2 separate regions of the Homo sapiens genome follow, and region 2 is linked to region 1. The links are contacts of gene promoters, found by promoter capture Hi-C in blood cells and fetal thymus (Javierre and others, 2016). All regions are on one chromosome and are shown on one strand. The core of a region is centred on a gene start or on the middle of the fragment in contact, and the rest is flanking DNA. Distances in the headings are between cores, read along the strand shown.

Evidence for each region. Contacts are between HindIII fragments. The CHiCAGO score rates a contact against its expected background, and 5 or more counts as called.
Region 2: a fragment that was not itself captured here is called in contact with the fragment with the promoter of BACE2 in region 1 in 1 of 17 cell types (naive B cells); the score reaches 5.1 in naive B cells.

Annotation. Positions count from the first base shown.
Region 1 is chr21:41,166,264-41,172,528 of GRCh38, reverse strand. BACE2 (beta-secretase 2) reads right to left here and starts at 4,369. Exons shown (of 9, transcript NM_012105.5): 1 at 3,954-4,369. The coding sequence starts at 4,265. It overlaps MIR3197 (microRNA 3197), which reads right to left and starts at 4,972; the gene lies at 4,900-4,972. RefSeq lists a silencer at 4,361-4,810. The HindIII fragment of the contact is 3,467 bases long and covers 2,304-5,770 here.
Region 2 is chr21:41,762,165-41,768,762 of GRCh38, reverse strand. It overlaps RIPK4 (receptor interacting serine/threonine kinase 4), which reads left to right and starts at 1,711. Exons shown (of 8, transcript NM_020639.3): 1 at 1,711-1,903. The coding sequence starts at 1,722. It overlaps LOC102724800 (a long non-coding RNA gene), which reads right to left and starts at 1,596. Exons shown (of 5, transcript XR_937745.3): 1 at 1,529-1,596; 2 at 746-904; 3 at 1-149. RefSeq lists enhancers at 1-94, 3,999-4,597, 4,860-5,154, 4,598-5,197, 5,899-6,532 and 1 more. The HindIII fragment of the contact is 500 bases long and covers 2,472-2,971 here.

The DNA of each region.
Region 1 (6,265 bases), core at 3,120-5,619:
TGCCTTCACTAGTGTGGCCCTGGACAAACTACTCTGCCTCTCCAAGCCTCGGTTACCCTGTCTGAAAATTAAGTCACATTGTTGTGCACATTTTCCAGGACGTTGCAAGGATACAATGAGGTGAGCCACGCACAGGGCTTCACGTGCCCTTTGAGTGTCCAACACTCCATCAGCAAGAAATCAAGGTCAGCTCTTGATCTTATAAACTATTTCTCAGACTCCTGTCCCTCCTTGTTGTTTCAAGCTGATTTCTTGGCTCACCTTTCCCAGTCCTCTGTAATACAGTCTTTGATGAATTCTTTCTCTAAAGCCCAGAAGCTGCCACTTCTCACTCGAAGGAGCTGGTGGCAAACTGGCTTTGACTTTCTTGTTCTTTCAACCTCAGTAATTGTTTTTTCTCATTGTCTTTAATAGTTTACCATTTCAAGTGGCTCCATCAGATTTCTTCTTGCTGGGATTGCCTTCTTGTTTTCAGCCTCACCTACAGTCAGCTTCATTTGGGGAGCCTGGATGGCTTCTTCTGAAGAACACAAACTCTTATTGCATATGCTGGATCCATATTTTCAATACAAGTCTTCCAAATAATTGTGTACTAAGAGGCTGATAATCAAGTGAATGCACCATGATTAAAATAGGATTCGCCAAAATAATTAGGTGGCCCTTTACATTCAAGTGTTCAGGTATGAGAATAGTTTTGCTGTCTGCTTTACCTATGTTAGTGGAGATGACAGAAAATCTTTCAGAAAAAGAATCCCAAAGGCTTTTTTTGAAGCTACTACAAGGTATATGGCTGCACACCTTCTCCTGTCTTCAGCTGGAGTTATTGTGTTAACATGAAAGTCTCTTTTTTCATAATAGAAATTGCTGTAATTATAATTACTTTAGAAGAGTGTTATTATTAATAAGACCAAATTGCACGGTTCAAGCAGGTGCTGGTTGAAAGAACTGTTCAAAAGTTCTACAGTTCGAAAGAACCCACATAATGGGATCAGCCGCAAACCTGGCAGTCATCTCCATGCCAACGTGGCCCTGCCTGCCAGCACACACGCCTTGCAGCTCTCAGGCGGGCTTCCGGGCACATGCCTGTGACTCCTCACAGAGTCACTGGGCTTTAAACAATGGACCTCTAGTTCCTGATTAAAGCCTTCGGGGAACAAGCACACTTCCAACAGTTGACTTTCCCATAAAAGAAGGGGAGCTGGAGGGCTCTGGTTCCTGTTGAACCTCTCCTCTCAAGGCCTCTCCCGTGCACACCTGGATCCAGCCCTTCATTCTGTTGCTCATTCAGCAGTGCTGAAGGAAAGAGGAGATGGGGGAACAGCACGGAGTTCCGGAGGGTCCAGTTGCAGTCATACAATAAGTCCCTAACACCTTGGGGTGTACGTTCAGGGTTCTCTGGCTAGAAAGGGTAGTTTGAGGCCAAAACCAAAGAGATCAGGAGGCATGAAGGGAAGGAAGTCGTTATCTGTCTGGTGGTTCAGAACTTGGCTTCTGAAGTTCAGCTCCCTGGCTTCCATTTTTGGCCCTCCCTCTTTCTTGCCCTGTTGCCCTGGAAAGTCATTCAGTCTCTCCGAGCTTCAGTTTTCCCACCCCCAAATGCGTATAAGACCCCCGAGGGGTGGTGGGTGGTGGGTGGGGATTCCTGGGAAAGCACACCTAAAGCACAGAGCGCAGTGCTTGTCACGTACTGAGCTTTCAGACATTGTCTATGACTATTACTTAATTCTTGAAAAATTCTTGGTTATTTATTGCTTGAATTTACAATTCCATTTTTCTCTCCACCTAAGCAATTTTTATTTTAGGCTTCAGAGAATCAGCAGAGAATAAATGCATGACTCCTGGCCATTAATAGAGCAGGAAAGCTCACTCCAGGTTCAGAAGTCACCTCACTGCTGCCCCCTCTAGCCGGCTGCTGACACCCTGCTGGTGGTCAGAGACATTTCAGGGCAACACAGGCAGGTAGTGAATCCTAATGCAGTAGTCAGGAAAGCCTGACTTTACAGTAGGCATTTGGAAAGATTTGGTTATAAAGCAGCTTATCGCTAAATCAAGCCAGGAGGGAGGTACAGGATATTTCATTCCCCATCACATGTAAAAATTAAATCTGTCTCTGTAGAAGCAGCGCTCCCTGGAAACATGCTAATGGTTGAGAAGTAATCTTGAACCAACTACTGCCTTGGCTACGGTAAAGACAGGAGCCTAGGTACTCAATACATTTCTGTTAATTAAATTAATTAAACCTCATCATTTTAAAATAAAGGTCATTGAATTAATTAACAGGCAAGTTATTATTTATAAAAGCTTTTTTTTTTTGATTGCCAAAGTTAAGTATTTTTTAGTCCTTCTTCAGGCTTCTCCCTTTCCCCTTTGCTCTGGAGGGAGGGTTTCAGGGCTTCTTTTATCATAGCCCTCAGACCACCCACATTTACTTTTAGTAGAGAGAATTCCCTCGCATCAAAGCACACATGTCCAATGGGGATTCATTCAAGGCCTGTTCCAAAAGATTCTCTGCAGGTCACAGAAGAGGTTCTTCCTCAATATCTTGTCATATTTCCAAGGTTCTCAGCACCAGGCACATGTTCCCACGTGTTGGCTGCACCAAGACCACATCTTACAGCCAAGTTAAGCTCCCTCAGCTGATGGGGATTCCTATTCCCTCCCTCTAACCATCCACTCCTGGAGATGGCAAAGATCACTCACGTGGCTTCCCATGACTTAGACGAAAGGCAACTAGAATCAAAGTTTGAATATACGCTTTTGAAGGTTTTTTTTTCCCCCTAAACTAATTAAACAACTACAGAAGTTATTCGGCAGTTTCCTTTTTTAAAAGAATTAGCATGGCATGTCTTTCCTCTTAAAGTCTTGAATAATTTAATGAGAATTATACAAAAGTCATGAGTATGTTCTATTTATGGGGGAATCATAGCTGAATCAAAACCCAAATGACAATGTTAAAAATAAAAATAAACTATCTTCAAATAGTGCATTCAATTGAGCAAAGGACTTCAAATCCCACTTGGATTAGACAGTTTGAAAGTAGGAGGGGGCAGATCAATTGGGATTTTTTTTTTTTTTTTTTCAGATCACTGTGCTTGGGAACATTTGTTTCTTGCTACAAAAAGTGTTAGTAAATGAACATCAGAGTAAGAGAAAAGGAAAGCTGTTTGATTTTATTTTTGTGTTGTAATCGGGATACCACTTGGTCCCCGGACACCTCACTCAGCCCCTGTTTTTTTCCCGGTAGCTGGAATGCTTTTCACACTCTGCACACCCGCGTGTAGATGCATCGCTCCGTGCAGAGGGGCAGGGCCGCCGGATGAGCGAGGACACAGCTGACAAACCAACTCCGAGAAAGGAAAGCGGGCGCAGGGGAGACGCTGCTCCTTCCTCAGAGCAGCAAGCGAGCCACTTCTTAACCGGGTTGCTTTTAGCTGAGCTCATGCATAAATCCTTTTTAAAGGGTACTGCGCCTTTGGAAGCCGGCCACGAGCCTCTTTAGCAATGAGACAGCATGGTGGTGGGGTGGGGGGGGGGCGGGGGGGAGGGAGGGTATGAACACGAGGTGATTTTCCCCATAATAGCCCGTCGCCCAAGGCCCACCGCTCCGTCTCCCGCTGGAAGTAGGTGTCGCCCGCAAGAAGGAAATCACGTTATTGGAGGCGGCAAGTTCCAGGTCTCCTCTCCCGCCCAGCCCCGCGGAGGGGGAGCTCACAAGTTCTGAAACACTCGCGCACACCCCTCAGTGCGCCCCGGGCGGGGGCTGCCGTCCTCCGCGACTCAAGAGCGAGCGCCCCCGCTCCCCGGCCCACCCGAGCCCCTCTGCGTTCCCCGCTCTTCTGTGCGGGGACAGCTGCTGCTTTGGGGGCGACGCTAAGCCGCGTGGAGGCGTCTCTGGACAGCCCCCTCCCTCCAACGAGCCCGAAAAGCCCGCGGCAGCAGCCGGGGGTCCCTACCTTCTGCGGGGGGGTCCCGATCAGCATCTCCAGGTAGTAGCCGCGGCCAGAGTCCCCCTGCAGGTTGTCTACCATGGCCAAGAAGTTGGCGGCGCCCGCGGGGGACGCCAGGGCAGGCTCCAGGGCGAGCGCCAAGCCGTCGGCGTGGCGCTCGGCAGGGGTCCCGGGTCCCGGGGTGGGCGCAACTACGCGGTTCGTGGCCGCGGCCACCCGGAGGGGCAGCGTGAAGGGCGCGGGGGCCAGCTCCGGGGCGGCGCGCAGGAGCCACTGGGCCAGCAGAGGCAGCAGCAGCGCCCGGGCCAGTGCGCCCATGCCCACGGCGGGGCCCGGGGGGCGCGCCCAGCCTAGCCGGTCCCGTCCCGTCCGGCAGCCGCGGCTCAGCGACTCGGCCGGCGCGCGGGGCTGCGGGCAGGGATGGGCGCGCACCGGGACCGGCGGCGGCGGGGAGGACGGGAGGAGGGCCCAGGGGAGGAGGCTCGCGGGAGGGGAGGAGGCTCGCGGGAGGGGAGAAGGCGGAGGCCGGGGAGGCGGGCGCGGAGGCGCAGAGCCGCCCCAGCCCGCGCCGCCAAGTTGGGCAAGTTCTTCTCCGCTGCCCCCTCTGGCGGCCGCGACTGCCCCGCAGCGGCCCAGCCCCTCCCCCGCGGCCAAGGTCACAGCGGGGCTCGGGGGGCGCCGGGGTCCACCTGCGCCTGCCCTCCCCACCCTCGCCGGGCTCAGGCCGCGCCTCTTCCCCGGGAAACTCGAGTCCCGAATTTCCTCGGAAAGCGCCCCAGCGGCCACGGCCAACGGATGTGACGAGGCTCATCTGATACCGGGGGGAAAGTTTCGAGAACCCTTAAAGGGGCAGCGAGGGCCTGAACTAGGGCCCCGGCCCCGCGCGCTTGGGGGTCCGCGGGGGTCTATTCGCCCGGCAGTGGCGGGAGCTTCCGGGGGTGACTCGGAGGTCAGCGAGGAGAGCGGTGGATCGGGAAGGAGCCTGGAGCCTCGCGCGCCTTTCCGAGCCTGCGCCTCCCCTCGCCAAGCTCCTCCGCCTCATTTCAGTCGCCGGGTCTGGCTGCTTTCGAGGCGTTTCCCGTCCGCTGCCCCCGAGCCCCCGCCCTCAGTCCAGCCCGTTCCCCGGCCTCATCCCCCGGCGGCCCCTGGGTGGTTTTAAAGAGGTCTCAGTGGAGGCTGGGAGGGTGGAGGGTGGAAGGAGGCAGAGGAGGATGCGAGAGCTTTGGAGAATTTTCCCTAAAAATCGGGGGAGGTGGGGGGCGTGGCTGCTGCTGGCGCCTGGCCCCAGCCTCATTGCCCCCCCTTACTCCCTCTGTTGCCCACAGCTAGCTGCGAAGCTGGGCTTCACCCCAGCCACCTTCCCCCCACCCCCGCCCCCTTCGCCCCCTCCGCCGCGCCCCTGTCCCTAATGCAGGTCAGATGCTACTGGAACCCGCTGCCTCCCCTGGCACCCAGCCCTCAGGCCACCTAGTAAGTTGCTGTCAGGATCCCAAATCAGGGCCACGAGTCCACCCTGCTGTGATCCCTGCCCTTCTCCCCCACCTCCCCTTCTATCCCCAGCCAGCTCTCTGCGGACTGTCTAATTAATACTCGTTTAGCCATAGACGCCAAGACGCAGAAATGCGTTGAGTAATGCAAGCAACGAGGGTTATTTTATTTTAGATACTAAAGGCAGGGGGGACAATTAGACAAGCTAAAGTCCATCGATTTCTACAGAAACAAGGAATAGAAAATTCTTTGTACCTCCTCCAGCTGAATTATGTTGGCTGTTTTAAAAAACAAACAAGCCCATCTTCAAACAGTGGGGAGTTAGAAGCCAAGCTTCCCCGAATCACTGCAATTTTCAGCTACTTCTACTCAAGATTTGATTTTTATTCCTGTGTTCCCAATTTTAGAATCACGTCTAGCTCTGCAAGGGACCTTTATGTCAGAGATCTTCAAATGTATTGATTTTCAGATGACTTTAACCATAAATCACACTTCCCCCAAACTATATCTCAACTTTAACAAATCCCCAACTCCATGAAGAAAGGCATAGCTGGATCCCGTGATATAACTTAAGTTGATATTCTCCATAAATCTGCATAGTTATTCCAGAGCCCTTCTATTCATATATTCACGTTTCAGATTCAAGGTTGTGGAGGGAATGTGATTTTTTTTAAAATGATTATTTATACTCCTTGGTGTCCAGTCTTGAGGGGTTCAAAAAGACATTCAGACAGCTCTGGGAAGAATATAATCTTTCTGAAAAGCACATGAAATGTATTAGGGCCATTGATAAAGAGGCTATGTGACATATAAGTTTAATACTAGAGACA
Region 2 (6,598 bases), core at 1,472-3,971, 600 kb before region 1:
GGCACCAGGCACTGAGCTAGCAGCAGACACTCCATAAATATTTGTCAAATGAAGCACACAGATGATTAAATAAATGAAATTGGAGCGTTTTATTACTTGCGTGGTGTGGGCTCTTAGTCACCCCCAGCTGCGGAGCTGTGTGCCGGAGACTGTAGATGGAGAAAGGTACTTTGCTAGAGCTGAGCCCCGGGAACAGGACAGGTGACTCACTTTCAAGTCCATTCATTTTTTTCCCACCAAAATAATAACTATGTTTACTTCCAAGGTATCTTCGTAGATTCAAAACTCCAATTATTTTTTAAAACATTAGTCCAAATGTAAGTTACATTTGTGACAAGCTTAAAACAACTATTTGCCACTCCAGCCTTAAGGAGACCAACTTTAATTTCCGGAGTATGTGGGAAAGGAAGTGGCTCCCTGGTCCCCCCAGGAGGCCCCCCGAGCAAGCATCGTCATGTTGGGATGTGTGAGTTCCCTCCAAAGAGCGGCCGGATGGGAGTGGGGAGGCAGTGGGGAGACGCGGCTCCCCGCTACAGGCTATGAAAGAAGGTCCGCGCCCGTTTGGAAGGGGGAGCCTGGAGACACTAGGTCTGCGGCTTTCAATGCGCTGACTTGGGGCAGCCTCTCTCTTTCCGAGTTACTAACACAAAAACACAGTTAATGTCGTTAAAATACCCTCTCCTTTAGCTCCGCCCTCCTGTCTTCATTATTAATCTCCTGTGGCCAAAAATAAGCCTTCACTCACCGTTGCGTCTCAGGAATGAGTGAGTGTTTTCTGAGGTGTGGACGCGTGCGTGATCTGTGATGCACTTCGGCCTCTAACCCAAATATCCTTCCAAGGCTGGGAATTTTTTTTCCCCATATGTGAAAAAAAAATCTTTCCTTTTCAAACCATCTGTTCTACCTGTAAAAAGAGGCTGTTATTTAGGAAAGGATGAGGGAACTCTTGCATTTGAAATGGACTTTAGATTTGCTGTTGGGTAATTTTTTAAAAAAAGTTACTTTCTGAGAGGAAACTCGTGTAAAAAAGCAAGACGTGAACCTGCAGGGAATTAGACTAACGAGTGAAGAAAGCCAATTTCAAAAAATTAGGCGCTGTATGATTCCTGTATCTAAACATAACATTTCTGAAATAAAACAATTTTAGAAATAGAGGAAAGATTAGTGATGCCAGGGCTCCGGGGTGCGGCTGTAAAATCGCCACAGGAGTGGCCAGGTGGGGGTGGATACGGGAAGGTACACAGATGATTACATTGTGTAAAACTAATACATGCAAAGGAAGACGAGTAAAACGGCAAAACTGAATAAGATCGGTGACTGTATCAAAGTCAATATCCTGGTTGTGAGATTGGACTTTTTTTTTTGGCAAAGTTTTGCAAAGTGGTAACACTGGGGGAAACTAGGCAAAGTGAATGATTTCTTACAACTGCATGTGACTCCGCAATTAAGGAAAAAAAAAAAGCAAAGAAAAGCAGGGCAGCTGATGCGCACGTCGAGACCCGTGAGAAGCGTGAGAAGCTCTGCTCACCCAGGGGAGAGCGCAGTGACCCGCAGCGTCTATTCATCCGTCCGCAGTCACCGGGCGCTGGCAGAGAGGGCGCCCGGGGGGCGGGTAAGTGGGCGGGGCCTGGGGGCGGGACGACCTACGGAAGTGACGTAACAGGGCGGAGCGCGCACCTGGGCACCTGGGCAGCCGCCGCGGCGCTGGCTAGACGTGCGCGATGGAGGGCGACGGCGGGACCCCATGGGCCCTGGCGCTGCTGCGCACCTTCGACGCGGGCGAGTTCACGGGCTGGGAGAAGGTGGGCTCGGGCGGCTTCGGGCAGGTGTACAAGGTGCGCCATGTCCACTGGAAGACCTGGCTGGCCATCAAGTGCTCGCCCAGCCTGCACGTCGACGACAGGTGAGCGGCCCGGGCGGGGCGCTGGGGCGGCTGGGGCCCGGGCTGGGGTCGGGGTCGGGGTGCTCTGGTCCCGGGGTCCTGCCTCTCTCTCCCGAACTCACCCCCGGAGCAGCTTCGGGGGGGAAACCAATTGCCGGCGAGGCCGCGGGGCTCCGACAATGTCCACTCGGCCTGTCCGGGCCGGAGGGGCGCGGGGGCTTTGGCGAGCCCGGGCTCGATCGCGCACGTCGGGGCCGGGTCAGGCGGCTCCTCTGGGGCTCCTCTGGGGCTCCTCGGGGGCCGCGTCTGCCCGGACGTCCTAAGGCGCCCAGTCGTGCTTCCTGACACTCCCCGAGTGGCCCTGGTTTTCGGGGTCTCCAGCTCGCCTTGCGCCTCGGACCCGCGCCCTTGGGAGGCGCGTCCGGCCCGCCCGGGACCCACCGGGGCGCTGCGGTCTGCGCAGGGCTTAGAAAAATTGCCATGTGGGCCTCTGGGCTTTGTGAGTGGAGTTAGCCTCCGTTCGACTTACTTAGTAATTTACGTTGGAACACAAATTGGTGTAAGACTGTAATTATTTCGGTCGGAAGCTTCGGCTTGGCTCGGGCGAGGCTTCCCGGGCGCCCGGCGCTTGCGCGGTGGAGCTCCGGGGCTCGGGCCTGGCAGTGGGGTCCGGCACGGGGCCCGGGGTGTTGATCCGTCCGCCCAGCGCTTCCTCGCCGCACACTCTCGTTTTAGCTGACTTAATTTCGAGACCGACCCGCTAGGGAAGGGCCTTGCATTCAAGTTCTGTGGCCGTGCCATGGGGCCCTCCTGCACCCCAGTTTCCCAGTCCAAAAGTCAGAATGGAACCTGCCTGTACCTACCTAGCAGGAGTGTTCAAGGTAACAAAGACGAATGGGAAGGACGCAGAGCCGCCCGTGTTAAATTCGGTGGGTCGGTTGTCGTCTGTGCATAATTTGAGAGGTAGGGAGAATGTTCTTGAACAGTACCTCTTTGTTGTTGTAGATTTCACTGTTTACAGTTGATTTTGATGGTTCATATGTAAGGCTCAATTTAGCACGTTTTAATTATTTATCCTTTAATGAAGCTTACCTTCTACATGGAAGCTATGCTTGTATTTTACCTAGAGATTCCTTGAACACATACACTCAGAAGCGACACCTTTTTAAAATACCATTTAGCCTTTGCTGCCTGGCAGACCTGGTTTCGAATGCTCGGCTGATTGAGTGATGGGGCCGCTAAGCCCCAGCTTTTCTGCAGAATCGTTGTGATGCCTGTGTCTGGGGTGGCAGTGCGTGCTGCAGCCCCATACCGTGACTGTGACGCCTCTGTGGATGAGAGGCCTGTCCTCTCCCTTTGCATTTTCGTCCTTGGCTAGGAGACTACACAGCAGAGATAGTGGTGGCTTTTTGCCGTAACCCTCAAATCCAGTGTTTCTTGGAAACACCAGTAGAGTGGTGACGAGTGTCATCAAATCACCACTAGTTCAAAGGTGAGATGCTGGCCCAGGCTGTGCACTTTTTCTCCCCTGCCTCAGATTCTGGGAACTTCTCAGGCCAGGAGGGGTGCTGTGGTTATTTTGATGAAATCCAAACCACTTTGAATACCAGCCAGTGGTTAGGTTCTGAAAGGGAACCCTCTCCATAGGGGCATTCGTTTTATCTCTTGGGGATGTGTGTGAGCTTTAATCATCAGTGAAAATTTTCACACCACTTTCTTATATTGGAAGAGCAAAGTAAACAAGCACCTACCTGGACTGACTCACCAGCTCACATCCTTAGGATCTTCTGTTATTTCTAGCGACCAGTCCCTTATTTCTTGGGTGGCCTGGTTGGAGGGAGGCTTTCTCCACTTAAGGTGGATCACTTAGGATATTGCATAGCTTGGTTGAAAAGTGTTTTGTACTTTAACTGGAAGCCTTTCCTACCCTGCCCAAAGCAGACAGGTGGTGGCATGTCAGGTGGCTAGGTCGAGGTCAGCATCGCCTAGCAGGAAGCATTTCACCTCCTGTGCTCTGCTGGGCCTGGTAGAGTAGGTTGGGGCTTTGCCATGTGCAGCAGTGGCTGATCTTTCTGAGAAGTTGGTCAAACCCTGGCTCTTTGTGAAGCTGATTCCTTTAGGTTAATTATTGACTGTATTGAGCCTGAGGTTCTTGTTAGGAATGTACATCAGTCCCACTGTGCTCCAGGAGCTGGTTGCATTGCAGTCTCACAAGGTTGTACCTAGGCCTTGAAGTAGTCGCTGTGCCACTTGCCCTGCCACATTTCTCAGTGCTTTTCTGACGAGCTGCCTCCCACCCCAGCCCCTCATATTTGCAAGATGTTCCCTGAATTGGGGCATAGGATTCTCCTAGGGTCTTTGTGTGCAGCCCCCGGCCCTGTACCCCTTCTGCCTAAGTCTTGCTTCTCTTCTCGGAGGGACAGCCCCTCTCACCCCTGACACACGGGTCTGGGCCTCTTCCAGGCTGCTGGGGGTCAGTGATGGTCTAGTCCACTTGTTACATAGGAGCCACCACAGGTACAGGTGCAGGTGAGGCTGATTTTCACTGGCCAACGCTGCTTGCCTCTCAAGGTGGTCTGGGGTCTCCTGGCTCCCTGCAGCTCCCCTGGGCCAGGCCTTCAGCCGGCCCTTGGCCACAGCACCTGCTCGGGGCTTGTTTGATGAGCAGGCTGCGCCAGGCCATGTGAGCTTGCTTTTCTGTGCAGGAAAGGTTGGGGGGCCGCCCAGCCCCCAGACACTTAGCGAGGCTCCCAGGGACAGGAAGTGCCTGCCAGGGGGCCCTCCTGGGAGTTCACAGGTGACACCCCATTGATCTGAGATTACCTTCATCATGGGGCTCGGTGCCTCGGAGGGTCCTGTGGGGTGGCTTTGGAGAGGCAGCTGGCCTCCCTGGCTGACCCTCATTGTGGGGGTCACAGGGCCTAGGGTGGGGTGTAGGGATGGGTGCTGTGACCAGTTTGGAGAGAATAAAGTGATCCCAAAGGCCCCGTTCCTCCCCTACCAGCCCCCAGCTAAGGGGATGCTCAGAAGAAGCCAGTGCCTGCGGGGCGCCGGCTGGGAGACGCTCCTGCCACATTCAGCCCTGGCTGGTCGGGGCGAGCCTGAGCAAACCCCAGGTTTGTAACAACAGAGCTGACGATTGGACAAGCCCGTTTCTTGTCAGTTTTAAAAATAGCCGTGTGGGAACCCCTCCGAGGCTCCCTGGGAACATAATTGGATTGGTGTGCAGAAGGCCTCGCTGAGAGGCATCAGCTAACAGATGATGAAACACATTTTCCGGCTGCATTTTCCTGAAGGTAGTTGCTAGGTTTCTCCTTCGGAGCTCTTTGTTACCTGAGCGGTCTCACCGTCTCCCCCACCTCCCTGCTTCTCACTTTTCCCTTCGTTTATTGCTTCTCCGCTTGCACAAGACCATGTCCCGGGGCAGTTCTTTCCCCCTTTCCAGGATGCGTGCTTGCAGGGGAAACCGCAGCTGGCCTGGTCCACAGGTCTTTGGAATTTCTGAGCCTGGAGAAGAACCTTGGGACTTCTTTAGAAGTTCCTTTTAGAGATGATTGGTGTGATGATATTTCTCGTATTTCTCGCTACTCCATTGGCCTCCCTGGGAGGGCGAAATACACTTTGGCTAGCCCTAAATGAGGAGAAAACCGAATTCATCTAAGTGCTACTCACCGTATCTTTAAAAAGTTGAACCCCAAGTTAATCCTAATTAATGCCCAGAGATTTTTCATGTGGAACCCAAAACAGGACCCAGGACACTTTTGCGGGGGAGGGGGGGCTTTTCCCGTTCCTGCGTGGAAGCAGAATTAGCAACGCTTTCACCAGCAGCGAAGGAGAGGGGAATAGGATGCCACCCCCTCTGAACTGTGCCTAAGCGTAGCTGCGCTTGGAGCAAGGCACAGTTTTTAGGTTGTGTTTTAATTAACACCGACGAGAGGGGCTTCTGGTCAACCCAGAAACGTTGACTTCACTGTCAACAGTAAGAAATGCGATTTGGAGACGGTGCGAATGTGACTGTGTGATGTTCTGTGCTCCCTGGCCGCCACCCCAGCACCTAGGCTGGATTCGGCATCTCTCCACGTGTTAAAATGATAATAGTAATAAATCTACAGTTCCTTTTGTGTGGTCATCAGAATAAGCCAGAATCATTAAAATAAGCCAGAAACACTGCTTAGGAGAAAAAAATGTATTAAAAAAAATAGTGCCATTGCTCAAAAGCAATTGGTGGGTTCTTTCTGTGCTTCGAGTACCTGAGCACTTCTTAACCTCCCTGATCAGAAAAGCCTCTTCTTGCAGCTTGTTGCAAAGAGGCCCTTTCAGGCTTATTGAATTGCAAATGCCGCCGGGCGACACCCGACCCCAGAAGGGCTGGAGCTTCCTAAAGCCGCTGGAGTTTCCCAGATGTGCGCCTAGGGAGCACCTGGAGAGGGGCTGGAAGGCGGGGTCGTGTGGGTTTTGGCCCAGTGGTTACTGGATGGTAAACAGTGTGGAAAGTTTCTGAGGACATGCTGGTGCTTCTGAGCGAAATCCAGGCTGGTAGGCAAGGGAGCCGCCCCACCCCCACTCCTGGGCCTCAGATCTCCCACAGGGCGGTCCCGGGACCCCCTTCCTCAGCTGGAATCCTGTCTACCCCAAGCCAGTTTGGATCATGCTGTCACAACACTTTTGTCCACGGAAACAATGACTTTTTTTTTCCAGGACAGCTGATTTTCCTCG